Linked DNA regions of Homo sapiens: regions 2 and 3 are each linked to region 1. Evidence: promoter capture Hi-C in 16 types of primary human blood cells and fetal thymus (Javierre and others, 2016). All regions are on one chromosome and are shown on one strand. The core of a region is centred on a gene start or on the middle of the fragment in contact, and the rest is flanking DNA. Distances in the headings are between cores, read along the strand shown. Region 1 holds the start of AGPS (alkylglycerone phosphate synthase). Region 2 overlaps LOC105373760 (a long non-coding RNA gene). Region 3 has its middle 43 kb from the start of MIR4444-1.

The links. Contacts are between HindIII fragments. The CHiCAGO score rates a contact against its expected background, and 5 or more counts as called.
Region 2: a fragment that was not itself captured here is called in contact with the fragment with the promoter of AGPS in region 1 in 2 of 17 cell types (monocytes and neutrophils); the score reaches 6.0 in monocytes.
Region 3: a fragment that was not itself captured here is called in contact with the fragment with the promoter of AGPS in region 1 in 3 of 17 cell types (monocytes, M0 macrophages and neutrophils); the score reaches 9.1 in monocytes.

The regions. Positions count from the first base shown.
Region 1 is chr2:177,390,221-177,395,092 of GRCh38, reverse strand. It overlaps AGPS (alkylglycerone phosphate synthase), which reads right to left and starts at 2,320. Exons shown (of 20, transcript NM_003659.4): 1 at 2,044-2,320. The coding sequence starts at 2,303. It overlaps LOC100130691 (Putative uncharacterized protein FLJ44553), which reads left to right and starts at 2,402. Exons shown (of 9, transcript NR_026966.1): 1 at 2,402-2,520. RefSeq lists silencers at 598-892, 2,101-2,320. The HindIII fragment of the contact is 4,249 bases long and covers 1-3,826 here.
Region 2 is chr2:177,142,357-177,147,228 of GRCh38, reverse strand. All of the region lies in intron 1 of LOC105373760 (a long non-coding RNA gene), which reads left to right. Among named protein-coding and RNA genes, the nearest start is that of MIR4444-1, 68 kb to the left of the region's middle. The HindIII fragment of the contact is 3,583 bases long and covers 422-4,004 here.
Region 3 is chr2:177,167,220-177,172,091 of GRCh38, reverse strand. No RefSeq gene overlaps it. Among named protein-coding and RNA genes, the nearest start is that of MIR4444-1, 43 kb to the left of the region's middle. RefSeq lists enhancers at 1,645-1,814, 1,393-2,592, 3,477-3,771, 4,773-4,872. The HindIII fragment of the contact is 898 bases long and covers 2,133-3,030 here.

The sequences.
Region 1 (4,872 bases), core at 1,071-3,570:
TTTTAAACCTAATGACAGCTATTAATAATATAACCTCAATTGAAGCCAGGAGACGAGATGAAATCCTTTATTCCTCCCCTCCCCACCACTCAGTAACCAAGTTATGGAAAATTTACCTCCTAGCATTTTCTCAATTAAGTTGCCTACTCCCAATAATATGCCTTAGTTCAGAATCCCAGCATTTCTCCCTGGAATAATAGTCTCCTAGTCTCTCTGCCTTTAGACACTGTGAAAATTGCAGCTACCATTCTTTGAAAGGTTATGTAACAGGCATTGCACTAAACACTTGATCATTTAACTCTATTTTTTTCAATTCTCACAGCAACACTGCAAAACAGGATTACTGTTCCCGTTTTTACAAATGACGGTGACTGAAACTCTCAGAGGTTAAGTGATTTGCCCAAGATCATAGAGCTGTAACGGTGTAGTGGAAATTGAAATCCAGGTCTATGTTCCCAGCCATTATACTGCCAAAATGCTCAACTGTCTTCAATTTGCTCCCAGTGTGACCTTTATCAAAGGTAAATCTAATCATGTATTGCCCCACGTAAAATCCTGTAAACAAGATTCACCTCTCCAGTCTTCGTCCCCTGTCATTCTCACCCTCTCCTACTACACTTGAGTCTCAGCAGTTCCCTAATTTGTCTCTCACTTCTTTACCTGTGAACATACTGTTTGTATGCCAAGAACAATTTCCCCCTTTGGCAAACTATTAGTAATGCAAACATCCAAAATTTACTCAGACAATCTTTACTTTGGAACATCTTTGCACTAACAAACACAAACCCAAAACTGGGTTAAATGACCAGGTGGTATAGTTCCCAGTTAAGTTTCTTATAACGCTGTATTATAATTTTACCTACTAAGCTATTCCTTCCTTAAGAGTAAATACCGTATTTTTAAATTTCTGTATTGCTGGTACAGTGTGTATTTTGTAAAGACTCATGTATGTTGAATTAATTCATCAGAAGCAAGTATAGCTTAGGAACTTGGCCATGAAGTCAATTTGATGTGCTTTCAAATTCTAACCTGTCACACAGCATATCTGCTAAGACTCCAGCAGACTTAATTTATTCATCTGTAAAATGGGAGAAAACCGCACATACCTCATAGCTTGGGAAGAAACAAAGGATTTAGCACACTTTGGCACACTTAAAAGTACACTTTAAACATTAGCTACTTATTTTTTTCACTCTCGGTTTATCCATTTATCCACGGTGACAAAGCCACACGTCAGAAAGTAGCTTCTCCTAATAGCCTTCATCAGAGATTGAGGAGATCGAGACCATCCTGGCTAACACGGTGAAACCCTGTCTCTACTAAAAATACAAAAAAAAAAAAAAAGATTTCTCCAAAAACATCGAAAGTCAAGATCTCTTACAAACATCCCTCATCGGTTAGACTCTTGTCTTTTAGCTTCTGGTTACACAGAGCTCAGTAGCTATACCACCACACCTTAAACCACTAGCTAGTGTTTGCAGTTTATGGCTTCTTACCATTCATCGGTTTCCTCCCTCAAAGTCAATACATCTTGATCCTAAGCAAGTGGAACTTACCCCACAGAAACCAGTCAGCACCTTTTTCCAGGGCACCACCAGTTTCCCCCACAGCAGGCTTTCGCGAATGAGAGAGATTCCTATGATCTATCATCTAGTACAAATTTATATCTCCTCGGAGAAAAATAGAACCTCTGCTACCCATTCCAAGACCTCAGCACCAAAAGTATTAATTCAAGATAAAAAATGAATTCCTGGCACTAAAAGCTCAGGAAAAAGGAATCCTTTAAACCCTTCTCCAACGAGAGTTCTTCAAGCCTGTTACCCTCACATAGTGACCAAAATCCACCATCCCATCCCGCCCCCTTCCTGACAGAATCCAGGGTCTAGTCCACTCTCTCGAAAGAGAGGTGGGTCCCTACTTTCAGGGACCGGGATGCCTTCCGCCCACCCGTGTCACTTCCCTTCCCACCTCGCCTGTGCCCTCCTGCAGCACAGGCCCGGCCTGGTCCCTCGACGCTAACTCCTTCCACATACCGCTACTCACCGCTTCTTTGGGATGGTGCCCGACTCCTGCGCGGCGGGAGTGGCCGTGGGCGCTGCCGTGGCCGCCGACGCGGCTCTCCGCGCTTTGCACTCATTGGTACTCAGAGCCTCCCGGGGCCGGCCCAGCAGATGGCCAGAGAGAACCCGCAGCCTCCGCCCGGCGCGGTCCGGGTCCGGGTCCCGGTCCCGGTCCGCTGCAGACCCGTAGCTCGCGCCCGCGCCCAAGCCAGTCCCACCCGCTGCAGCCGCCGCCTCCGCCATGGCTACCGCCTTGTGCTGCCGCCCGGAACCGCTGGGCGCGGGTGAAAGGTCACTCAGAGCGGCGCCCGGCGCGACCATTCGCTGCGGCGCATCCCGGCAGCCACCGCGGCGACTTGGCGGCGGGTGCCATGCGTCTGGAGCTTCACATTCTCTGCCCCCCACCCACCGCGCCGGCGCTCCCTTGTCACGCCTCGGGAAGCGCGCACCTGCCAAGCAGGTGAGTTCGAGCTGACTCCCGGTTGGCCCAGCCCGGTCCAGCTGGACCGAGAGCCAAACCACGTCCGCCCTCGAGGTGTCCTAGAACCCTGGGTGGTGTCCTCGGGTGTGGCCTGGGGGCTTTCGAGGGCAGATGCCTTGGAGCAGGAGAAATGGGCAGTGCTACTGGACCTGATGGATCCAGCGGCATCCTTTTCCTGAAAGAGATTCTAATGTTCCACCTGTGCTCTTCCTCCCTGCGGGGTCACCAAAGTAACTCAAAGCTGACCATCATTGCCTCTAACCATTAGAGCAAATAGCTCTATCATTTTCTTATTTCTCACCACCTATTTCGTGCCTGGCACTGTGTTTAATGCTAGATCACAAGTAAGTACAGAAACTGAGTTGCAACTTAAGTTCTCATTTCATTCATTACTGGATCCTAACCCCTTCCTAACTTTAATAGAGATAAAGTTTCTTATTGCTACAGACAAAAATTACCCAAGAGCTGTGAAGACATCTCAGTTATTTACAGATTGAATTCATTTCTGGAAGATAGCACGTGAAAAGTGCTCCTCACCTGTTTCAGCCGGTGTCTTGCATAAGAATTAGCTTAGACAAAAACTCACATACACTGGCCATTGTCATTCTCCATCCTGTCACCACTTTCACATCATGCTTTCCTAACAAGAAAAATATTGGCAGAGGAATCTGAAGAACACCACATCCATGGGACTAGAGACTAACAATTGCTCTCTTGGGTGTTGCCAGCTTCTAAAATTGAGATTATGCCTTTAGAGTGAACTTCCAAAGAGGCCCAGACTGGTTAAAAACTCTCAATTAAGGGCTAAGCAAATTGCTGTTGGAGGGCCAGCTCTAGTCTGTGGCCTGTTTTTACACAGCCCTCATGCTAATGGTTTTTGTATTTGAGAAGGGTTGTTAAAAGAAAACAAGAAATTTTTTAAAAGAATATGCAACAGAGACCTTATGTGGTCCCAGAAGCCCCAAAATATGTATTACCTGGCCTTTACAGGAGGTCCGAATGTCTTCTGAAATTTATATACGAAGAGATACCAAACCATTGAAAACAGTCCAAATGTCTAGCAACAGAGAAATGGTTAGTCAATATGTTAAAATACTTTTGCAGCTATTAAAATAATTTAGTACAGTTGTAGAAACAAGAAAGAATTAGGAATTTGTTAAATATAAAAAATGGCCATAACCTAGGCATCTTATACGTATCTATTTAATCAATCTTTGCAGTAACACAATGACACAGTTTTATTATCCTTATTTTATAGATGAAGGCTCAAGGAGAGTAAGAAGCTTTTCTTAAATAGCTATATTTTATCTCAAATATCATATACTTCATGTTATTGTCCTTATTCCACCATTAGAGTTTGGGGCCATTAACATTTTACGTTAAAATTACTTACGTAGGCTTGGGGTTTTTGTTTTTTATTTTATAGATTCTAAAATTGAACTTTCTAAAATAAATTTTCACTTTAATTATAAACTATACTCCTGGTTCTTAAGGATTGAGTTCTGGGAAGAATTTCAGAGATTGCCACCACAGCTATCACGACCTCATTCATGAGGTGCAAGAACATGAAACACATATAGCACTTTCCTAGGTATTTATGACTGAAAAAAGAGAATCTTTAGTTGATCTTGTAAAATTAAATATCAAAGCCTGCAAGCCACTAGTTTCTGGCTTTTGCATACTTTGTTGCCTACCCTCACAACAAAGAAGTTGCACCTGATTGACATTTTCAGTATTCAACTGATGACCAGAAAAGTGGCTATATGCTCCTACATGTTTGATAACAGAAGAAAAATCCTAGCTTCCTTTCCTTTACTTGATTTTGTTGTCAATTAGAGGAATTGTCTCTTATTTTAAAATTTTAAAACCCACTTTGCCTTCCAGTGTCATGTACATAATTCTAATGGTGTTCTTTTTGTCTTGCACAATCTGAAGAAAGTCACACTCATCTCCTCTGACCTGATAAAGCAGTCTCCAAAACAGATAGATGGAGGTGGCTCAATCCAATAATTAATGAGCCAAGAATTATTCCTGTATACTATCCCCTCAGTTCATCTAGGCATTACCTCCATTTCCTCATGTTTTACTTCCTCCTGTATCTTTAGAATCCAATCTCAGATGTCACTGATGAAGTTGTTGCAGAGAAATATGATAACAGCTGTCTAGACCTATCAGTTATTGAATTGAGATGTCCTGTAGCCTTTGATACAGTAGGTCATTTTTTGTTTTTGCAAGAATGTAATCCCGTGATTCTCCATGTGCTTCCTTGAATGGGGTAGAAACTGAGCTCATTTTCCCCTCCCTTTTATGCTTCCCTATAGTCCACCAAAG
Region 2 (4,872 bases), core at 964-3,463, 250 kb after region 1:
AGACATTTTCTCTATCTCTAGTTATCTGCTAAATAACTTTTTTGGCACCTGGAGTAAATTCAGCATGGTTGTGATTTTCCATTTTAATTACCAAATGATGACCAAATAATATTGAAGATTGTTTATATGGGCAATTGGCTAGGTTAAAAGCCTGATTTCATCTCTTATGGAAATGAATTTTGTATTTGCCTTTCTGGTAGGCATTTAACCAGAAAAAGCCTTTAAAACACAAGGGAGTTTTAGGTTAAATTTGTTATCATTTGTAGGTATGATTTTAATTCTGCACAAATGTTTCAATACAAATAAATTTTATAAAAGAGAAGTAATGGGTAGACATTGGAAGGAATTAATCAATGAAAATATAATTTCAAGAACCTAACTTTGTTAACTGAAATATTATTTTTCACTTAATTTTAAAGCTTAATTCCTTTAGCAATTCCATGAAAAAAACCCTACAGGAATTTGTCTACATATTTTCTGAATTCTTCTCAGGTGTGATTATTTTAATAAAAATAACAATATTTGTAATTTTGCAAAATGTATGAGTAATTTTTTTTTTTTTACAAACTAGGCAGTGAATTAGTATTTTGTAACAAGAAACAAATGCACATATTCGGTTGGTTTTTAAATCTCTAATTACTTATTTTAAACTTGGGGCTTATCAGAAATGCGAGAGAAAGTGGTTATAATGCCAAAGTTAATTTTGTTTTGTCATATACAAAGTAGTTAATCTAAAAATTATTGATTGATATTCTCCCTCTTTTAACTCTTTTAGGACTCGATATTTAAAGCAAAACTAATTTATCTAGGTGTTCTACGGCACAAAATTAATTCTCCTGGGACTGGTCCAGGCCAAGCCTCATTATGGAACGGTTCCTCTTGCTGAACTAGTCTAAGCCTGATTCTTACTGGGATACTTTTTTAGAGTTATTTGCAACAAAGAATTTAACCCTTGAGAAGCTACAGAATTGACTTTCAATATTATACATATTAGGCCATTTGAGGGGATCAGGAAGACATTAAAATCAGAGTGTGTTTTTTCCTTGTGGGTGCTTCCTGGGACTTTGAAGTTAGGCAATTGTATTTGTGTATACTGCAGGGATTTTAGTTTTGTAATCATATACCAGAATTGAAGTGTTCATTTAAGACATTTTTTACCCTTCCCTAATCTGCATCACAACAAGCATATTACTGACCCTGTCTTTTTCATTTATATATAAGTGGTGAATTTACCTCTTTGCCTGGGTGCCCAAATAGTTGTTCAGATCATACAGCAAGTTTCACTGACTTTCTTTGCTTAATGTCTAACTGAATCATTTGGTTACTTGGTGTTTTTGTGCATACATAGACCCCAAGATTGTAACTGTTAAACAGCTACAAAAGTAGTTCAGCATCATTCATCAGTTATATTTCCTTTACTGTGTGTGTGTGTGTGTGTGTGTGTGTGCGTGCGTGTGTGTATAATATCTTTGCAAAATATTATTGGCGAATAGATTTTTTAAATGTCAATTTTTGTGTTGACTTTTTGCCTTTTGTGTAGCAGTTAGTTCATAAAGATTAGGCCATTTTCCACTGGAGAATCTCTTGCATTTTAAGGTTCTTTGCTCATTGTGGGCATCTTACCAAATTTTTTCACTGAAGTAGTTTTCCTCATTCAAAATGCCACATTTTCTATTAGAATGTTACTAATCTGGCTCAATATATTTTCCCTTTGTGGCTGGTAAGGAATATTTATTTGATGCTAGTGAGGCGGCCCAATCTACCAGCCAGGTCTTTCACAGAGAACAAGATGGTGGTCAACTTGAGGATGGGTAAGTGTCTTTGTGATGGAAAGCAATAATTTAGTCTTTAGTAGGCTGCTTGCTCTACATGCTAACAAACCGACACCTTTCCTCACTCCCCTTCTCCCAGACAGATTTCTGTTGGATTAGTAGTAGGTTGACTTGTTCCGTCTCACATAGATATACTTCCAGAAGGTGTCGCGGTGATGCTGTGAGACTTAACTTGTCAACCTAAACTCTTTTTATCTGAAATGCAATAACAATTGCCAAGTTTTCCTAATATAAAAATAGTCTAAATCAATTATCCAGGCTATTGTTAAGCCACACTAAATTATGGGATTAATAAGCAAACATTCAGGTAGTTCAGTGGCATTTGATAAGGAAATTTAATTTACTCACATAAGATTACACTTAGAAAATTATTGGCCAGGCGTGGTGGCTCACTCCTGTAATCCCAGAACTTTGGGAGGCTGAGGCGGGGGATCACCTGAGGTCGGGAGTTGGAGACCAGCTTGACCAATATGGAGAAACCCTGTCTCTACTAAATATACAAAATTAGCCAGGCGTGGTGGTGCATGCCTGTAATCACAGCTACTCGGGAGGCTGAGGTAGGAGAATCGCTTGAACCCAGGAGGCAGAGGTTGCAGTGAGCTGAGATCACGCCATTGCTCTCCCAGCCTGGGCAACAAGAGCGAAACTCCAGCTAAAAAAAAAAAAAAAGAAAATTATCCATATAGGTCCCATTGTTTTCAATAAAGTAAAGGTAGGTTTTTAAAGAAAAACTTTGTAAAAACATACTCTGGCCAGTGAATTTAATTTCTCTGTAAAATAATAGCTTTTTTTTTTTTAAAAAGAGTCTTGCTCTGTCACCTAGACTGGAGTGCAGGGGCAGGATCTTGGCTCACCACAATCTCCTCCTCCCAGGTTCAAGTGATTCTCCTGCCTCAGCCTCCTGAGTAGCTGGGATTACAGGTGCGTGCCACCACATCTGGCTAATTTTCGTATTTTTAGTAGAGACGGGTTTCACCATGACGGTCAGGCTGGTCTCGAACTCCTGATGTCATGATCCACCCTCCTTGACCTCCCAAAGTGCTGGGATTACAGGGCGTGACACCGCGCCCGACCTAAAATAATAGTTTTAAGAGAAACTGCTGCCTTGTGAAATTGAATTCTCAGTCTATAATGTGGCGTATGCTTCTGTTTTAAATTCATTATAAAAGGTATTTAAACTTCATAGATTTCTTCCCCCTGTGTATTTTTGTCAGCCTAGACGCACAAAGAAAGAAGAATGCTCTATACCTTGTGGACATTTAATAAAGATTAATTTTTTTAAACTAACAATTTAAGTATAATCTCCAAATGGAAGCATATCTATGTTAGTTTAAATCCTTTCACAATAAATAACAGAATACAGGAAACTTTTAGGAAGGTTTATGATTTTCCATAAGAAAAATGTGCTTAGAGCTTAGAGGGGAACATTTTACAATTTTTTTAAAAAAATCTACATCTTCCTTCTGCAGATATCAATACAATCAATTGACAGTAAATGAAAAAGCCGAAAAAAAAGAATGCCCCCTCTCCAGTCTTCCTTTTTTTTTTTTTTAATTTCAGTTGGAAAATCCCCACTGAATGAATTTTTTTGAAAAAGTAAATGTATCCTGGGAACATGCCGTTCAGGATTTTGGAAAAGGAACTTCAAACGAAATTGGTAAGGGAGGCAAATGCGTAAGTGGAAACTTTGAGGAAACTGGCAATGAGAGACTGGAAATCAGGCAGTCATTTACGTTTTACTTCACCACCCTTTGCTTATGTGAGTACAAAGCAGGGAGCTGGCAAGGCTGTGAGTCAGAACTCTCCTCTCAGGAACTGAGCAGAGAGATTCCCAGCATCTGTTTCCTCAACTATCACCCAGAGGATACTGGTGGTAAATCACAGGGAATAAAAATAGCCTCAGAAGTCTAGTTCCAGACAAATAAGGCATGCTGGATATTCGATAGTGGTTTGGGGTCTCAAAATTCTTCATTAGCTAAATAACAAATATATTATTTTTTACATTAATGAGCATATTCCTTACATTGTTCACCTAAATGTTGAGCACAACCTTGGCATTTCTACTGACGTGAGTTGAAGTATTACCTAAATTACATTATGTTTGATGTTACAGTCTGAACCATTTAGTGTATAAAGGTGGGTCTACAATCAATAATCACAAATGTTAAAGCTTTATTTTAGATACAATAAAACATTTATTTCTAAGATGTTAAAAAAAAACCCATAAGCTTCTTACCATAATGTCAATTGCCAATAGATTGATAAGATCTTTCTGCATTTTGACTGCAGGAAATTTTATGGCTAGAATCTTACAATTTACACAACTTACAGTCTTTTTAGGTTATATTTCACATATAAGAAAGTATTTTTTAGGTCTGCCTAGAAATGTTGTAATTTGATATTAAGTTATAGCTTAGATTTTCAACAAAAACAGCAGCTGTAATAGATGAGATTAGCAAGTGGTGAAAAGTTCAAAGCATTTAATGGAATTGATCTACTAAATTAGCATTGACAATTTTTAGTGGCTATCTTAAATATACATTATTATCATGAAAGAATTAGTCCAATTAAGCCTTTACATTTGGAAGATGCCCAGTCTGACCTTGTTCTACTCAATGTGAAAAGTGAGAGGGTCTTTGGGTTTATTTAAATTTGGTGTTAAATCAATTGGTTTGGGGGACCTTTTACTCCTTTTTGGAATGGAAGAAAAACTCAAAGGCTATTTATAGTGACAAATGGGTTATTAGAACAGTTAATATATTATATTATAATTTATAATTATAAATTATAATTAATATAATATATAACAGTTTTTATATTGCAAATAAAAAATGATGACCAGGAGTTGCTCTGAACCTATTCTGGTTTAGGGAGCTGCCCAGCTAAAAAAAAAAGAAAAAATAATGATTGAAGAATAGAACAAAATAATATTTGATACATAGGTGAGAATCAATTAGAGTGGGATTCTTTTCTCACAATTTCTTACTAAAGCCATATTTACTGGGTATACTGGATGTATTTTGGAACTGAAATAATTATA
Region 3 (4,872 bases), core at 1,332-3,831, 220 kb after region 1:
CATGACAGAGCAGTTTATTTTTGTAAGGTGGGAACAAGGAAACAATGATTTAAAAAAATTTTAAATATACTTTTCAAAAAATAATAAAGACAGAGTTTCGTGCTGTTGCTCAGGCTGGTCTCAAATTCCTGCAGTCAAGTGATCCTCCAACCTTGGCCTCCCAAAGTGCTGGGATTACAGGCATCAGTCGCTGCGCCCAGCCAAACAAGAATTTTTAAGAAAGAGGAATGGTTAACATCAGGTTACTTCATCAGGTTACCTTTCCTTGTAAGGGTTAAAGTAGAGGGAACTTCCTTTTCTTGCCAGCTCAGGTTGACTGGGGCCTTTCTGATTGGTAGCTGTGAACCTTCTGTTTTCGGGATAACACTCTGTTTGGGGTTTTCCCTGCTTCCTTAAAGTTTTAGTTTGATTATGTGGCATGAGTGACTCCATTTTGGTCTAGCCTTTTGGGGCCTGGCATAGAAGCTGTCTGTTACTGGGGCAGCCCTGATGAAATAACTGGGAAAGTTCCTCTTTTAAATGCTTTCCTTTAGTCGCTTTATTTATAGGCACAGCTGCTTAAAGAAACCAGACAGGCCAGAATGGCGCCAGAGCTTTTTGACCCCTGGCAAGATACCAGAAGGAGATAAGACCTGCTAACCAGCGCAAACTGCAACAGTGATCCCTAGTTGCCTTCAGATCATTAACATATCATTATAATGCTAAAATCCCTCCCCTAAAAGAAAAATCTCTTCCATTTTCTGTACATGCATTGTATGAAGATGTATGTTTTTGAATTAAGCCTGTGTGTCTGGAGTCCCACCCTGCACATGCTAACATCCCTCTCCCTCCCTATACCCAGTCCCTAAAGTACCCATAACTTCTACTGTTCAGGGAGAAGGGGCGTTTAGAGCGAGAGCCTCCCCTTCTTCCTTCTTGGCCAGTGAATAAAACCTGATTGCCTTTTCCAACTGGACATTCTTCCTTTGCCATCAATACAAAGTGGGGAAAAAACTCAGTTTACTGGCAACAAGTCCAAACCAATGGCCTCATGTAAATTTTATTTAATACCTCCCAAAGGTCACCTCTCCAAATACCATCACACTGGGGTTCGGGCTTCAAGATATGCATTTTGGAGGGGATACAATTCAGTCCATAGCAGGTTCTTTGATTTCCCATTTCTCATTGATTCTGAGTATCTTTCCCAGGTAACTGCTGGGAGGAGAGGTGCCTAGGTCAATGCAGGAGTTAAATACTTTTGGTCGCTTGTCTTAACAGCATGAATTTCAAGCAGAGCTTCTAGGAGTGGCTGCTCAGTTTTGGACTGCAGTTACCTGCCCCCATCTCTCCCTTGGCCGGGCTCTAATGCAGGGCATCTTTTCCTAACGTATACAAAGGCTTGTTTCTGGCTTGTTTTTTGAACGGATTCCAAATCTTACAAGTGTAACAGTAACGATCCCATTAGATACGCAGATTCTGACCCAATTTCCTAGGACTGAAAAAAAAAAAAAAAGAATGATTTTGAAAGGTGAAAATAAATCAGTCCTCATGTCATGCAGCTGAGGTTCTCCCTCTTCCCCAAGAGTGATTTTTTTTTTTGTTGGGACACTTTTCCACATCTCACACATACCCTGTTCCTCCACTCCCTACTCATTTGCCTGACTTGTCTGGATATGTTTAAGTAGCACACCCAGTCTGAGTCCATTGTCAAGGGCCCCTCGAGGCCTCTGCAAGGCCTGCCCTGCCAGTTTGACAAACATGCCCAGGCATGCTTGAACTCCAGCAATGGACAACAGATTTTCCACTATACAAATAAAGGGAGGAAGCAGGCAAAGAAGTATTGCAGAGGTCCAGGAAAAGAGAGGGAGAGCACAGTGCCACTGTGCCACTGCCTGCCTCAGGTTCTCTTTTGATTTGCATTTTTAATGGTAAATTTTGGTACAAAAGTTGCCATATACTCAGCGGTCAGCCTTTCTCCTCTCCACATCTTGGGCCATAAGTCCTTGGCGTGTCGGATTCTATTTCCTTCCTGGTCTATGTGTAGTGCTCACCAAAAATGCTTAAGACCCATGCTTGATGATGAAAAAAAATTCTATTTAAGGAATGGTGACCAAAAATGAACTTAGATGTGAAACTAAAACAAACAAAAAGCTTTTCACTTTGCTTTGAACTGGGCACACTCTTTTAACAGTAGGGCACTTCCTGCGTGTAATGTAGCTCTGCTGTGACCAGTTTCACCACGTCTGTTCAATGACTGCCTTGGGAACCAGATCAATCGTGGTCTACCCTTTAAAGGTAGCAGCACTAATTCCTGCTGCCAGCCTCAGCTCAGACACAATGGAGAAACAATTCCCCAATGTTAGACTTAATCACATTGATCTATTTTTCTGTAGCTCTGGTCTTTGCAAGAAACAATGAATGTACAGCCAAACTCACTTAAATGTGATTATGTCAGCCGTTCTATTATCTCTGTATCTTGTATTTTGGGGGCTGTTAATGATATATCATAGCAGATAATAGAAATTTGAATTTGTTTCTTTAAAAGTAGCCAGATGAGCAAGTACATGAAATGACTACAAAGAGTCCATTTCAAATCTTGTTGAAGGTCATAATGAAGATGGTTGTCTTATAATCTCTTACCAACGGAGGTGTTGGGGAAGAAAAAAATCCCCCTTCCAACAACTAAATTAGTTAGGGTGGCCTCAATCTCTCATCATCCACATTGATCAATATTCTCACTACTTCTTTATTTTTATGAAAAATGGGGAGGGACAGTGCAATCCTATCATCTCCACATTTATACAAGGAGTTCTTGAGAGTTAAGGCAGAATGCAGTCCTCCGGGTCCCTTTATGTGGTCAAATAACCCACAATTTTTGGCTGGCCTCACCCAGTCTTCGTTGATTCCCTTTCCCTTGCAACTATAGGTGCAGCCATGGGACCAAGTTCTGGCCAAAGGTTTCCAAGTGGAAGAGAGCTTCTGGGAGCCTTCCTTGACGTGCAGCACACCCTTTGCCTCTCCATGCCTTCCTGCTTCCTGCTGCTTAAAGCTTGAGTGCTGTAACCATGAAGCATGAGCATGCCAAGCACAGCTGAACAGCAAGACAGAGGACCTTGGGTCCCTCAAACCATGAATCACTGTATCAGTCCTAGCCCCACCACTCAGACTTTTGTGTGAGAAAGAAATTTAACCCGTGACTCAAAACAACAAGTTTATTCTATTTTTTTTTTTGAGATGGAGTCTCACTCTGCTGCCCAGGCTGGAGTGCAGTAGTGTGATCTCAGCTCACTGCAACCTCCTCCAAGTGATTCTCCTGCCTCAGCCTCCTGAGTAGCTGGGATTACAGGCACGCGCCACCACACCTGGCTAATTTTTGTATATTTAGTAGAGATGGGGTTTCATCATGTTGGTTAGGCCGGTCTCGAACTCCTGACCTTGTGATCTGCCTGCCTTGGACTCCCAAAGTGCTGGGATTACAGGCGTGAGCCACCATGCCCAGCGCAAGTTTATTCTTGATCACACCACATGTCCATTGCTGGTCAGCAGGGGGACTCTGCTCATTGTGGGTACTCAGAAAGCCAGGCTGACAGTGTCCATGTCAACCAATGCTTCCACCATTGCTGACAAAGACAAAAGGAATGTAGTGAATTGTATACTGATAAGGCTTGGAACTGAAAATAACACATGCCATTTTGCTGACTAATGCAAGTCACATACCATATCTAACTTCAAAAAGGTAGGCAAGTAGTCTATTTGCCCTAAAAGCAGGAGAACCAGAATGTGTGGATAATCCCAATAATGACTATAATTTCTATCTTACCTAAGCCACTGTTATTTTGGGTTTTCAGCCAATTGCATCTGCACTGAATCCTAATTAAGAGAGGAATGATCACATCAATGCTGTGATAACTATGTCCTGTGAGGAAGGCTGTCACTGGGTGTACACCTTATACTCGGAAGGATTTGCAGGGGTCACTCCCTGTGGCTTTTCTGAGAAAGAAGAAGCCACATCTTTCTTAAGATCCTCAGTCATCCTTCAGTCATTGACATCTACTACACTGCAGGCAAATCACTAAGAATTCCTATTCCTAAAGTTCAGGCTACCACCTCTAGCTCCTTCTAAGTCTACGAAATATTCCCTATTCTTTTGAAAACACAACTCTAGTCTTTTTCTATTCTGCTTTGTTCCGGCATTCAAATCTTAGTCCTTGAGATCTGTCATCTTTCCCAGAGGCTCTAAATATGTCCTTACCTCCTTCAATTTGGCAAATATCTTCACTCGACCCTATGACATTTTCCAAATCTATAGACAAATGAGTCGTTCTATACCTATTGTCTTTTTGTTTTCCTTTTCTGAAACCCCTGTGATGAGGCTTCTGTTTGTACCATTCTACTTAAACTGTCTAAAAAGCCATTAATGGCTTTTATCAAGAAGCGTTTGTCTAAAACTCTGGAATTTCCTGGAAACATGCTTTCGTATATTTCATATAGTGGGATGGATAACAGCAGATAAAAACAGTCATAGGTTTAGTAAAACATAGTAGAGCCCTTTCTGCATTTGGGTAGTATGGGAATGCCTTCTGATCTGCTACAGGTAAAATCATATGTCTGTCTGCTCCTGCCCTAAAACACAGGAGCCATCTGCAGTACAAGGCTGACATATTTATTTATTTTGCAACACACACATTCGATCTTTTTTTTTTTTTTTTTTTTTTTTGAGACGGAGTCTCGCTCTGTGGCCCAGGCTGGAGTGCAGTGGCGCCATCTCGGCTCACTGCAAGCTCCGCCTCCCGGGTTCACGCCGTTCTCCTGCCTCAGCCTCCGGAGTAGCTGGGACTACAGGCGCCCGCCACCACGCCGGGCTAATTTTTTTGTATTTTTAGTAGAGACGGG